Linked DNA regions of Homo sapiens: all the other regions are linked to region 2. Evidence: promoter capture Hi-C in 16 types of primary human blood cells and fetal thymus (Javierre and others, 2016). All regions are on one chromosome and are shown on one strand. The core of a region is centred on a gene start or on the middle of the fragment in contact, and the rest is flanking DNA. Distances in the headings are between cores, read along the strand shown. Region 1 overlaps CDK14 (cyclin dependent kinase 14). Region 2 holds the start of CDK14 (cyclin dependent kinase 14). Region 3 has its middle 14 kb from the start of PTTG1IP2.

Region 1 (4,486 bases), core at 1,217-3,716, 150 kb after region 2:
TTCAGCTTTGTCAGCCATATGATCTGTATTGGAACTACAGCTGTGTTGTAGTTTGAAAACCATGAAACAATATGCAGGTGAATGACCACGACTGTGTTTCAGTAAAACTTTATGAACACTAAAATTTGATTTTCATATTATTTTCACATATCATGAAACTTTATTCTTGTTTTGCTTTGCTTCCTTCAACCATTAGAAAAGGTAAAAACTATTCTAAACTTATGGGATATACAAAAACAGGTGGTGGGCTGGATTTGACCCATGGGCCACAGTTTGCCAGCTCCTAATTTAGAAGATGGTATAATAACATGTAAAGTGTTCATAATTGATTGAATAAAAAAAGGGAGGGGCAGGTTTAAAAACAGTAGATATAGTGCAATTTCATTTATGTAAGAAAGCAATCATCAGCTTACAGATAGCACTGGAAGAACAGCTATCAAAATATTAACAGTGGTTTCCTGGTTAGCTTATGGGAATAATTTCGTTCTACATTGTGTTTATTTGCATTTTTTTTTAGTTTTGTATCCTGTTTATTATGTTGTTTTGAAAAATAAACATGTATGCCAGAAAAAACAGTTATTTAAAAAGTGACAGAGAATCTGTACATTTTTAGCAAAATCAGGGTATTTGTTGTTAATTAATTTGATACAATCTGTTTTGTTTACCCTGTGCTTCATTTTTAGCCAACAAGTCCCAAATTTGGAAAAGCTGACTCATATGAAAAGCTGGAAAAACTAGGGGAAGGATCTTATGCTACAGTATACAAAGGGAAAAGCAAGTAAGTTCATTATTTTTGGAATATTTCACATGTACAGTGTATCTGCCCTCTTATTACTAAATAGCATTTTATTTAAATAATTATTATTTAATATACAATAGATTTTCCTCCCTCACGGTATCCTTTTTTTTTTTTTTTTTTGGCAAGTGTGTAAAACTCATTGGAATTGGTGTACCCTGCTAGTAAACAGTTTTTCAGACTGTTCAATTTATTTTTCTGTTTAATGCGCCTCCCCACAACACTGCTTTCTCTTTCAAAGGAGTTGGAACCGTCTAATGAGAATTCATTTCCAGGTGAATTATGTGATTAATTTCTCATAGAGATTTAGTGTTGGGAATAGGAGTATTGATTTGACAATGCCAAATATATTGGCCATTCTTGGGGTCTTTTTAAGTTAAGCTTTTACTCCATCTTTCAGAAGTCTCTTAGTTAAACAAAATGGCAAACTTTTCTTTTTCTTTCTTCCTGTCTGCTTTGGCATCATGCTGCATATATTTTCATATCGAGAAACAACTGTCTCCTCCTTTTCTTCTTTCTCTCCATTGCTCTCTGGGGGTCAGGGCACAGATTTGGATTCTTGAAAAGCTTGTCCTCATGTGTTTCTGATTGACCTCCTTACTCTCCCTTATTAATTAAGGACAGAGAGTTACTGTATTTAGTGACATGTAGTTGTAGATAACTTAATGCAATCTCTGCAACAACCACAGAAGTCACAAGCTTTGTTTTACCTTTATAACTTTACCAAATGATGTTGCAAAATAATTTTCTATACTGTCCCTGTTATCTCTTTTCAAAATCTTTATAGAAGATAGGACTTTTTTGTCTGAGACAGCATTTCGCCCTGTTGCCCAGGCTGGAGTACAGTGGCTTGATAACGGCTCATTGCAGCCTCAACCTCCTGGGCTCAAACAGTCCTCTTGCCTTAGCCTCCTGAGTAACTGGGACTACAAGCCCATGCCATCATGTCTGGCTATTTTTTTTAAAAAACTCTTTTGCAGAAACGGAATTTTCCTGTATTGCCCAGGCTGGTTTTAAACTCCTGGGCTTAAGTGATCCTCTGGCCTCGGCCACCCAAAGTGTTGGGATTACAGGCATGAACCACTGCACCCAGCCAGATTAGAATATTGTAACTTAAGTAATTAAATAAGAAGATGTAGAAGAGAAAAATTCTCTGAAGGATCATTCCAAAGACATAGTTGGAAATTTTGATTATGTGCTAATTTAGGTAATCTTAGGATTTTCAGGAGTGTGGTCTTATATCTGTTTGTTCATGTTTCTTAAGTTTAGAAGATGAAATATTCCTTATCAAGAAAGATATGTAAGGCAAAAATACTGTGAAGTCAAAAGTAATAGTATTAATTTTGAGAGTTGTAAAAAAAAGTTTGTAAAAATGGTGCAGGGAGCCCTCTTCATTCCACACCCGGGCAGATCTCCAGGCCTTTGGAGCACCCGCTTGCCTCGTTCTATATCTTGAGCTGCCCCACCCCTTCTGTCCAGAGATCCTGGTATAGCAGAGCCTTCTTCACTCCATGCCCAGTCAGATCTCCAAGCATTCAAAGCACCTGCTCACCTCATCTGGATTGGCAACCTCAGTTGCCCCACCCTTCCTTTGCAGACATCCAGGTGCAGGAGGGGCCCTTTCTGCTTTACATCCAGGCAGATCTCCAGGCAGTTAGAGCACCTGCTCACTTTGTTCAGCATCCTGAGTCACTCACTCTTCCTGTGCAGAGACCATGGTGCAGCTAGGCCTCTGCTCCACACCCAGGCAGATCTCCAGGCATTTGGAGCACCAGTTCACCTGGAATGGCAGCTTAAGCTGCCTCACCCTTTCTACACAAAAACTCTGGTGTAGCAGGTTCCTCTCTCCTCCATGCCCCAGCAAATCTCCAGGGATCTGGAGCACTTACACTCCTGGATTAGGAGTTTAGGCTGCCTCCACTTCCTCTGCAGAGACTTGGGGCTAAGGATGTTTCCCAGCTTCATGTTTAGGCACACTCTGGGTGCTTGGTGGCTTTCTACTGGATTCTCCATCAGTGCTGGTGCTTGTGCCTGCTATCAGGGGATGACCATCTTGCCTCATGCCCCCAGGACTGAGAAGGGAACTCAGAACACTATGGGCTCCACAGATCAGCCCATTGCCTAAGGCAACAGAGAGCATCTCCCCATAAATAAGGATCAAGTATATATCCAGACACATTGGCTGCAGTAGGTTCTTACTGATAAGTGCCATCTACTGGCTGTAGGTCAAACCAAACAGCCGTATGTAAAAGCTGCTGATAGAAATGCATAGGGCTATAGAAGCAAAGCCAAAAGATCCTACCCAGCATTCTCTGCAGTTGCAACACAGAGGGAGTGGGGAGAAGGGAAGGGGAAAGAAAACACACACACACACACACACACACACACACACACACACACACACACACCAATAATATTACAGAGAAAGAAAAAGAAAAAATGCAATCTGTACAAAAATAATTACAAAAATTATAGTGCCAACATCTCCAGATGAGAAGGAACCAGCAAAAGAATTTTGTTATTGTGAAAAATCTGAATGTCTTGGCACCGCTGAAGGATCACACTAACTCTCCAGCAATAATTCCTGACCAAAATGGAAACTCAGAAATGACAGATAAATAATTGAAAGCATGGATTACAAGGAAGCTTAGTGAGATCCAAGACATGATTCAAAATCTACACAAAGAAACTTCTAAATCAATCCAGGAAATGAAGAAGGAGATATAACATCTTAAAAGGAAATCAGTCAGCGTTTCTAGAATTGAAAAGCTCACTTAAGGAATTTCAATACAATTGAGGCCGGACGTGGTGGCTCACACTTGTAATCCCAGCACTTTGGGAGGCCAAGGCGAGCGGATCATCTGAGGTCAGGAGTTTGAAACCAGCCTGGCCAATATGATGAAACCCCATCTCTACTAAAAACAGAAAAATTAGCTAGGTGTGGTGGCACATGCCTGTAATCTCAGCTACTCCAGAGGCTGAGGCATGAGAATAGCTTGAACCTGCGAGGCGGAGGTTGCAGTGAGCTGAGATCACACCACTGCACTCCAGCCTGGGCAACAGAGCGAGACTGTCTCCAAAAAAAAAGAAAAAAAAAGAAAAGAAGAAAACAGTTGAAAGCTTCAATATCTTAGACCAAGTGGAAGAAATAATTTCAGAGCTTGAAGACCAATCTTCTTAACCCAGACAAAAATAATATTTTTTTAAATGAACAAAATCTTTGAGAAATATGGGATAATGTAAAGTGATCAAACCTTCAAATTATTGGCATTCCTAAGTGAGACAGAGAAAAGGTAAACAACCTGGAAAACATATTTGAGGGAATAATCCCAGAAAAATCCCCTAACCTTGCTAGAGAGGTGAATATCCAGATTCAAAAAATCTGGAGAACATCTGGGAGATACTATATAAAATGAACACCACCAAGACTTACTCACCAGGATGTCTAAGGTCAATGCTAAAGAAAAAATGTTAGAAAGAAAAAAGCAAGATCACATATAAAGGGAACACCATTAAGCTAACAGCAGATTTCTCAGAAGAAACCTTACAAGCCAGGAGAGTTTGGGGGCCTGTTTTCACCATTCTTAAAATAAATCTCGGCCAAGAATTTCATATCCCACCAAGATAAGCCTCATACGCAAAGGAGTAATAAAATGTTTTCCAGACAAGCAAGTGCTGAGGGAATTTCTT
Region 2 (4,424 bases), core at 795-3,294:
TAATCCCAGAACTTTGGGAGGTCAAGGCGGGCGGATTGCTTGAGCTCAAGAGTAGGAGACCAGCGTCGGTAACATGATGAAACCCCGTTTCTACAAAAATTAGCCAGGCGTGGTGGTGCGCACCCGTAGTCCCAGCTATTTAGGAGGCTGAGGTGGGAGGATGGCTTGAGCCCAGGAGAGAAGGTTGCAGTCAGCCGAGATGGCGCCACTGCACTCCAGCCTGGGCGACAGGCCCTGTCTCGGAAAAAAAAAAAAAAATACTGCGAAGGTAAAATAAACATATATTTAACATATTATATATTTGAAACAGCCATTGTCACAGTGGATAACAGTCACAGGTGTATAATAGTGAAAGTTCGTTAAATTAATATTTCTTCGTGTTTGTTGACTCGTACAACCCATTAGTGTTTTGATTGGTTGCATTTGTCTTTTCATTCATAACTGCTGAAAACTTTCTCCCTAACTAACCTGAGGAAGTGGTAAAAGTCAAACTTTTTTCCGGTATGAGGCCACCCTTGGTGCTGTCTGTAATTATCTAGACATGGCAGCCAGGATCCAACAGCTTTGCGTTTTAACTCATATGGTCTTTCCTGGCGAATTCCTTGCCCCCCTCTGCTCCCCACTTAGCTTGACTTCCTGTCTTTTATCATCCGCAATCTATCAAGATCCTACAATGTGCTCAGTGTAGGGCGGAACAAATCACTGTTTTACCTCACAATTTAAGGAAGGCAGGGGGCTAGTTTTTAAGATAAAAATCTTTTAACAAAACATAAACTCCCCAAAATTTCCTACAAGCCAAACAGCATTGTCACACCCTCACAAGCTCTTATTACTTACACAGCCAAATGACTCAAGATTACTAACGTTTCTATTCATAAGGAGTTTGCTGGCCTCAGATCAACACAATCAAGCCCTCCCCCACCTTCCTTCTCTCTCCCCTGGGAGACTGACGTTTGGAACTCACGCCGCACCAGGTTTTTTCAGAATGAAGACGATGTGTGTTCGCTGCTGGAACTGTTTGTCCTGGGATTTTATAAACACCTCCCCCACTCCTTTTTAAAGTTCTGTTTTTGAGGTGGGGGAAAAGGAGGTCGGAATCTGTTTAGCCTTTAAATCTCCCAATTCAGAAATATATTCTAAGAATTTAATAGAAAAAGACCAAGGGCTGTGTCTGCTATTTACTGCAGAACTGGGTATTCCTATCAGAAATCACCTACATGTGTCACCAAGATCAGAGACAAGGATGAGGGAAACAGCATGATCCCTGCCTTCTGGAGGGTTACAGTTGAAGCTTCCGCTGCTTCTGCACTTGACCTCAAAACAAACAAAAAACCCACCGCAAACAACAACAAAAAAATCCAGGCCCACCTTTCCCCTTGGATCTTTCACTTGACAGCTTTCTCGGCCCAAAATAAGGCACCCTACATCTGAATGCATCCCTAAGGCCTTACCGCACCCAGTCCAGGAGGCAGTCCTGGCAGCTGCCCTCCACCGAACTCCGCGCTTTTTCACACACGCTCGTGGAAGGAGAAAACCGCTCAAACAACTGGACTCGGCCCGTTTCCTTTCGGTAACCTCCCCACAGCCCAACACGCTGTCCCCAGACGCTGCCCGCTCCCACCCCGGTCCCTTCGTGATCCTCCCGCGCGCGGGCGGGGCGGGGGAGGAGCGCGGGGGCGGCCGGGAGGGGCGCGGCCGGGAGGGGGCGCCGCCGGGGCGCGAGCCAGACACAGAGGGCCGCGGAGGACGCGGGAGGCGAGCGGGGAGCCGAGGTCGTGCTAGGATCCCGCGCCCAGGGGCCTTCGTCGAGGGAGGGGCGTGGCGGCGGCAGCAGGAGGGCAGCAGGAGCTGTCAGGCTGGCGGTTCCGCGCCGCGGCTCCTTCTGCGCTGCGCCCGCAACTCTGGGCTGAGAACTTCTCCCGCCGGCCCACTCGCCCTCGCCCCGCGCACTCGGCGCCAGGCGACTCCCGCACCTTGTACCCGGCCCGCCCCGCCTCCTCCTTCGGCCGCACCACTCCCCCTGCCGGCCGCGCTTCTCTCCGTTACAAAGGAGGGAAAATGAGCCGGGCGGCGGCGGCGCGGCGCGGGGCCACCACGGCGGCGGCGAGCGCGGCCGCCCCCGGCACCACGTAAACCGCCCCCGCCCGCCCAGCTGCGGCCCAGGCCGGAGCGGAGCCTGCCGTCCTCCGCCTGCCTGCTGCTCGCCTCCCTAGACCTGCGCGTCGCTTCCCGGCCCGCCGAGGAGGTGGTGGAGGAGGAGGCGCCGCTTTCCCCGCGGCGCGCGCCCTCGCCGTTGTCTGAGCTGTGCCTGGACCAGTTTGGGGAAGTTGTCGGGGCTCCGCGTCGCCCAGATGTGTGACCTCATTGAGCCGCAGCCGGCCGAGAAGATCGGCAAGATGAAGAAGTTGCGGAGAACTTTGTCGGAGAGTTTCAGTCGCATTGGTGAGTAGCGCGCTGCCCCCGGCCCCCCCAGCGCCCGCTCCCCTCGGCCTGCGCCCCCGCCGCGTTCCTGGCACCAGCCATGCAGCTGCCAGCGGGGCTGGCGTGGGGTGCGTTGTAGGCGGGGATCGAGGGCACAGTGCTAGGGACCCGGGGGAGGGCAAGGACGTAAAGGAAAGAGACCCCTCTTCCTCAGGATCTGGGGGTTCATTTGTAGATTCTCTCAAGCCTACAATATGGGTTCTCCCCTCCTCCGCCACTAGTGCTCGCCCTTTCGCGCGCGTGGGGGACGGGCGAGGGGACCCCTCGGCCCCCACCGCGCAAGGGGCTGCGCGGCTGCTTGGGCCACTTGTTATTTTTTGCGCACAGGCTTGGATATTGGGCGTTTAGTCAGTAATTTAGCTTTGGAAATTGGTGAAACGTTAGACTGTGCCCTGGTATTGTTTAACGTATCCAACCTAAAGGGAAGTGGGACAGTTACCTTGGGACCTATTGTTCGGTACTTCGGGTCCTGGAAAGCGAGATTTGGGTGTTCAGTCTCGAGGTCTCTGAATCTTCCCGCTGCTGGAGAGAAATGCGCGCTGTGGAGTTGTCTGGACATTTAGGAATGTCTCTCGAACTTGTTCCATTTAATAGAGCTCAGGGGCTGTTGTCTTTAAACCAAACAACAAACCAACTGACCAACAGTGTTTAGGACAGTGACGAATAAATGCATGTCACAGGTTGTAATAGGGTGACAGCAGTATCACGTGGAATGGGTTTGTTAGATTTTGAGTACTGGGCATAGAAAACCCCTTTTAACCTGAAGAGTTAGCTGCCTCCCCTACTGTCACAACTTTCACTAATAACATGTAACTGCCCTGAGCAAGAGAATGCTATAGACACAAAAGATAACCCCTGCGAGTCCCTAGGAAGCTGCCTAGTCTTTGTTTCACTTGTTTTAAATGTCATCCATGTTAACGAAAGTGTTAATGGAAATTAAACATAAAGGTACTTAATTCCTTAAAATAAAACCCTGGGATGCACATGAGTGTTACAGATATCCTTCCACCCATTCATTGTAAGATATGCAAACTTTCTTCAAGTGAGAGAGTACAATGGATCGAAATTTAGCCAAGTTTTTTTTTTTTTTTTTGTCTTTCGACTTAAAATTTTGTGTTGGTATGCAAAATCTTTCCCCAGATGACTGTAAAGTTATGGTATGAAACCAATCTTTAGTTTTATTTATTGCATGTATTGGATATTAATTTCACTCTTCAGAATTAGGGATACATGTGGAGAGTCCCTGCATTAAGATGAAGTTTGAAGCCAAGAAGAGTGTGAGAGAGGGAAATGTTGAGTCGTGTGCATTATTAACGAGGATGTTTCAACCCTGACCCAAACCGTCGCAGAGGCGGGTTCTGGAGTCCATTAAGCCGTGTTCTAAAACACATTAACTATATATTTACTAATGCTAATGATTCTGCTGGAGCCCCTCCAGTTTTGTGTTAAATAATTCATTGCAATTGAGTCTCAGTAAGAAACCAAGGACATTAATCTAAAAGTTCCTTATATTTAAATAATTTCAAGGTTTTGATCGACAATCAGTAAAATTTGGATTAAGTACAGTGCTGGCAAATGGGGGTATTATAGTTAATTGGATTTTCTAGCTTACTGAGATTTAGTGATGTGAAACTCCTTTTGAATCCAACTCTTGTTAAAATGTCTTCTAAGAGCTGGTGGATTTTATATCCTCCCTTTAGGACACAGAATGCAGTGCAGTGAGCACAGCTGATTATTTCTTGTATTGATGGAAAATATGATTCTGAATCGTAGATCTCATTATGGAGTATTGTAATAGGAGATATTGAAGTGATTATAGTTGTATACCAAGCCAACGACATTCAAAGTAGCATTACAGAAACAAAATCTGTATCTTCTTATTTTCTTGATGTTTTATATTGTATTTGCAAAATTAAAACCAGTGAACTCATTCTGATTATCTA
Region 3 (3,962 bases), core at 23-2,522, 140 kb before region 2:
TGTTGGACTACATTCAAGGGCTTTCAGTGTTGACTTTAGTACTACTTTTGAAGATAAACATAACTCTTCACTTTCATTTAAAGCCTTTGTAAGAACTTTTAACGCTGAAAGAAAAGATAAGTGAGCTATTATTATTCTTAAAATATACTTCAAATTTTATTTTTAAAAGGCAAACTGTGGGGATTTTTCTCTTATTATTTAAATTTGTTTCTCATATAAACATATAGCCAGGAATCAGGAAAAATGATCTTGTTTGCTTTATTGTTGTATTTATTGTATTCAGGATTGGAATTTAATGTATTGAATTTCGATGGAATTCATTGGGCATAAGGCATAACATAAAATAGAGTACAGTTGCCATTTTTTCCTCCAGCAAAATTTTAAGTCATGGAGATAAATAATGAGTATTCATTTATTTATTCAAAAATATGTATTTATTAGTTCCTCTTAAGTACATTTTTTTGTGTTGGAATACTTACAACCATGGATGAGACATTTAAGAACTCAATCTGTACATAAAATAGAAGAGAGGACAATTCATTTTGTGAAGGGAAGTTATGCTAACTATTCACTAGCTGCTATGATTTCGTCATGTCCCCCAAAGTTATGTGTTGGAAATTTAATTCCCAATGCAACAATGTTGAGAGGTGGGACCTTTAAGAGGTGATTAGGTCATGAGGGGTCTGCCCTTATGAATGGATTAATGCCATTATCTAGGGAGTCGGTTAGTTATCATGGGAGTAGGTTCCTAATAAAAAGGAGTTTGGCTCCCTTTCTTCTCTCACATGTGTGCTTTCTTCCCCTTCTGCCTTCTACCACGGGACGATGCAGCAAGAAGGCCCTTAACCTTGGACTTTCTAGCCCCCAGAACTGTGAGCCAAATAAATTTCTGTTCATTATAAATTACCTAGCCTCAGGTATTTCACTATAGCAGTACAAAACAGATCAAGACACTGGCTAACCCTCCAAATTCATTCTCCATCCTTCTCTGCCCTACGTCGACCTACAGATTGCATTATCTGAGTTTCTTTGCTCCTCTGACTTTGGGAGAATAGATAGTAGGAGAAGAGAAAGATTTGGGTATTTATTCCCCCTACTCGCTCAGCCAAACTATGTTTCCTTTACCTTATGACCACAGCTTCTTTTGGGCAATCCTTCAGTTCTCTCTGATTTCAGCCCTTCCATTCCCTGCTCTGTCTCTTCAGTTGCAGGGATGGTAATAGCTTCTCTTCGTTGTTAGTCACTGGGTGCTTCACCGTCCTTGGTTATTGTTACTCTTGACACACCTCTGTATTTAGTCCCTTCATTGAATTCTCTTCAATTAACCTTCCTGCTGGGCTGCTTACTGTCACAGACAGGAATATGGAAGGTAAAGGAAGAGAATACAGGGATTTCTTTACCTTCAAATTTTCAGCACGTAGATCGTGATAGATCTGAACAAAGCTACTATCCAGATAAAAAACATGCAATTTCTGTTGCTGCCAACAGATGGCATTAGTAGTCATAGTTGGTTATTTGGGGCCATGAAGTGTTCCGTTCTTGACTCTGTTAGCTGCTTTTCTCTATTTTTAGAAAATGTTTTACAAATATTAACTCCATCCACACCTGATAAATGCAAAACAGTAAGAGTATTGGGAAAAGCTATTTTAGCAGGCATACATTTGTTTATGATAAAGCCAAGAATAGAGATTATTCAAAACAGATGGAAAATAGAAAGAAAAGAACAAAGTTTGCATATGCACAAAGAATGAACTTTTGAAAACAGGAATAATTTTAAAGGGACAGAAAAGCATTGTGTCTAATTGTTATGGACTGAATTTTGTCCTCTCAAAATTCATTTATTGATGGACTAATCCCTAATGTGGCTATATTTGGAGATAGGGCTTTGAGGAGTTAATTAAGGTTAAATGAAGTCACAAGAATGGGGCCCTAACCCAATAGAACTGGTGTCCTTATGGGAAGAGGAAAAGACAACGGGAGTATATGTGCACAGAAGAAAGACCACGTGAGGACACAGCAAAAAGGTGGCCCTCTGTGAGCCAAGGAGAGAAACCTCAGGAGAAACCAACCCTGCCAGCAATTTGATCTTGGACTTTTAGCCTCCAGAGAAGTAAATTTGTGAAAAATAAATTTCTGTTGTTAAAGCCACCCAATCTGTGGGATTTTGTTATAGCACCCCTAGCAGACCAATACACAAACCCGTGGACAGTAATCCCCAAGAGACTAAGTGACTAAAGCAATGAAAAACATAGTATTTGCATGTGTGGCTAAAGGCTCAGTATTAATATCAAATGCTTATTAGCATTAGGAGAGGGCTAGGAACTTGTTCCAAAACTGAAAATGCGGAATGACCCTGGTGGCGTCTCCCATAGCTGACTGGATGGTTATCGATGCTATGAATCCAATTAGGAAAACAGGGGAAAGAACGAATTTGATGGGGAAAATGAGTCTGACTTGGGGCATACTGAGTTTGAGTTGTCTTAAGGACATTCAAGTAGAGACTTCTGAAAGAACTTGGAATATTAGACCAGAATTAAGGTGATAAATGATTTGGGGATAAAAATTCAATTGACACATATGGTTGGGTTTTAGTTTTAGTTTTTCTGAGACAGGGTCCCACTCTGTCACCCAGGCTGGAGTGCAGCATTGTGATCTCGGCTCACTGCAACCTCGGCCTCCCGGGCTCAAGCAATCCTCCCTCCTCAGCCCCCCAAGCAGTTGGGACTATGGGTACCCACCACCACGCCTGGCTAATTTTTATGTATTTTTTGTAGAGACAGGGTTTTGCCATGTTGCCCAGGCTGGTCTCGAACTCCTGGACTCAAGCGACCCGCCTGCCTCAGTCTCCCAAAGTGCTGGGATTACAGGCATGAGCCACAGTGCCTGACCTAAAACATATGTATTGAGCACCTACTGTGTGCTAGGCACTGTCTAATGCTTAGGTTACCTCAGTGAACAAAAGAGGCAAAAACCCCTATCTCATGGAGCTGAAATTCTACTGGACAGGAGAAAGAAAAAAACAAAAAGCAATAACATAATGAGTATGTTATACAGTATTTTAGGAGACAATTCAATGCCTTAGGGCAACAGAGCATGCCAAGGGAATTGGAGATGCTGGTGTGAGGAGGTACAGGTTGCAATATTCTCTAACGTCATTCAGATTAGGTCTCATTGAGAAGATGGCATTTGAACAAAGACTTGAAGGTAAAAGAGGTAGCCGAGGGGCTGTCTGAAAAAAGTGTGGTCCAGGAGAGGGAATAAACACTGTAAAGGCCCTAGGGTGACAGCATGCCTGGTGTATCAGAGAGACAGCAAAGATTCCAGCAAGGCTGTAGCCTAATGAAAGAAGAGGAGAGTAATAGTAGATGATGACAGAGGCACAAGGTGGAGGAGGTGTCAGGTCACTCAGGCTAAGTCTTTTGTAAGGAGTTTGGGTATTACTCTGAGTGAAATGGAAGCTTCCAAATAGAGGTGTTACCAGGTCTTTCATTTTAAAATAATTACTGGCTGCTGTATTACCAATAAGCAGTGAGAAGAAGGAAGGGCAAGGGTGGGAGCAAGGAGACCAGTTGGGGCACAATTGCAGTAACAGAAGAGGAGGTAGAAGTTTGCTAATTCGAAGGTAGAGGTGATTTACTAATGAACTATATGTGGAGTTTCAGAGAATTAAAGGAATCAAGGATGACTTCAAGAGTTTTAAACTGGGAAACAAGAAGGATAAGAAAATGGATTAAAGAAAAGATCATAACTTTCAAAAGTATTGAGATGTTTGTTGCCATCTATTTGCATATGTTGAATAGGCATTCTGATATGTTTGACTGGATATTAGGAGTGAGGTTCAAGCTAAAAATATAAATTTGGGAGTGAGCAGCACGTGGATGGTATTTACAGCCATGCTATTAATTGAGATTACCAAGATAATGAATGTACTTAGAAAAGAAAATCAAGGATTCAGTCGGGGT

Evidence for each region. The method cuts DNA at HindIII sites, captures the fragments that hold promoters and counts their contacts. A CHiCAGO score of 5 or more calls a contact.
Region 1: a contact is called between a fragment that was not itself captured here and the fragment with the promoter of CDK14 in region 2, in 2 of 17 cell types (total B cells and naive B cells). The highest score is 7.2, in total B cells.
Region 3: a contact is called between a fragment that was not itself captured here and the fragment with the promoter of CDK14 in region 2, in 4 of 17 cell types (M1 macrophages, M2 macrophages, monocytes and 1 more). The highest score is 10.6, in M1 macrophages.

The regions. Positions count from the first base shown.
Region 1 is chr7:90,746,998-90,751,483 of GRCh38, forward strand. CDK14 (cyclin dependent kinase 14) reads left to right here. Exons shown (of 15, transcript NM_001287135.2): 4 at 684-778. Among named protein-coding and RNA genes, the nearest start is that of CDK14, 150 kb to the left of the region's middle. RefSeq lists an enhancer at 2,747-2,806. The HindIII fragment of the contact is 1,947 bases long and covers 1,494-3,440 here.
Region 2 is chr7:90,594,277-90,598,700 of GRCh38, forward strand. It overlaps CDK14 (cyclin dependent kinase 14), which reads left to right and starts at 2,045. Exons shown (of 15, transcript NM_001287135.2): 1 at 2,045-2,442. The coding sequence starts at 2,352. RefSeq lists silencers at 1,653-1,852, 1,873-2,182, 2,373-2,572, 2,633-2,682. The HindIII fragment of the contact is 4,165 bases long and covers 1,290-4,424 here.
Region 3 is chr7:90,454,132-90,458,093 of GRCh38, forward strand. No RefSeq gene overlaps it. Among named protein-coding and RNA genes, the nearest start is that of PTTG1IP2, 14 kb to the right of the region's middle. The HindIII fragment of the contact is 4,367 bases long and covers 1-3,456 here.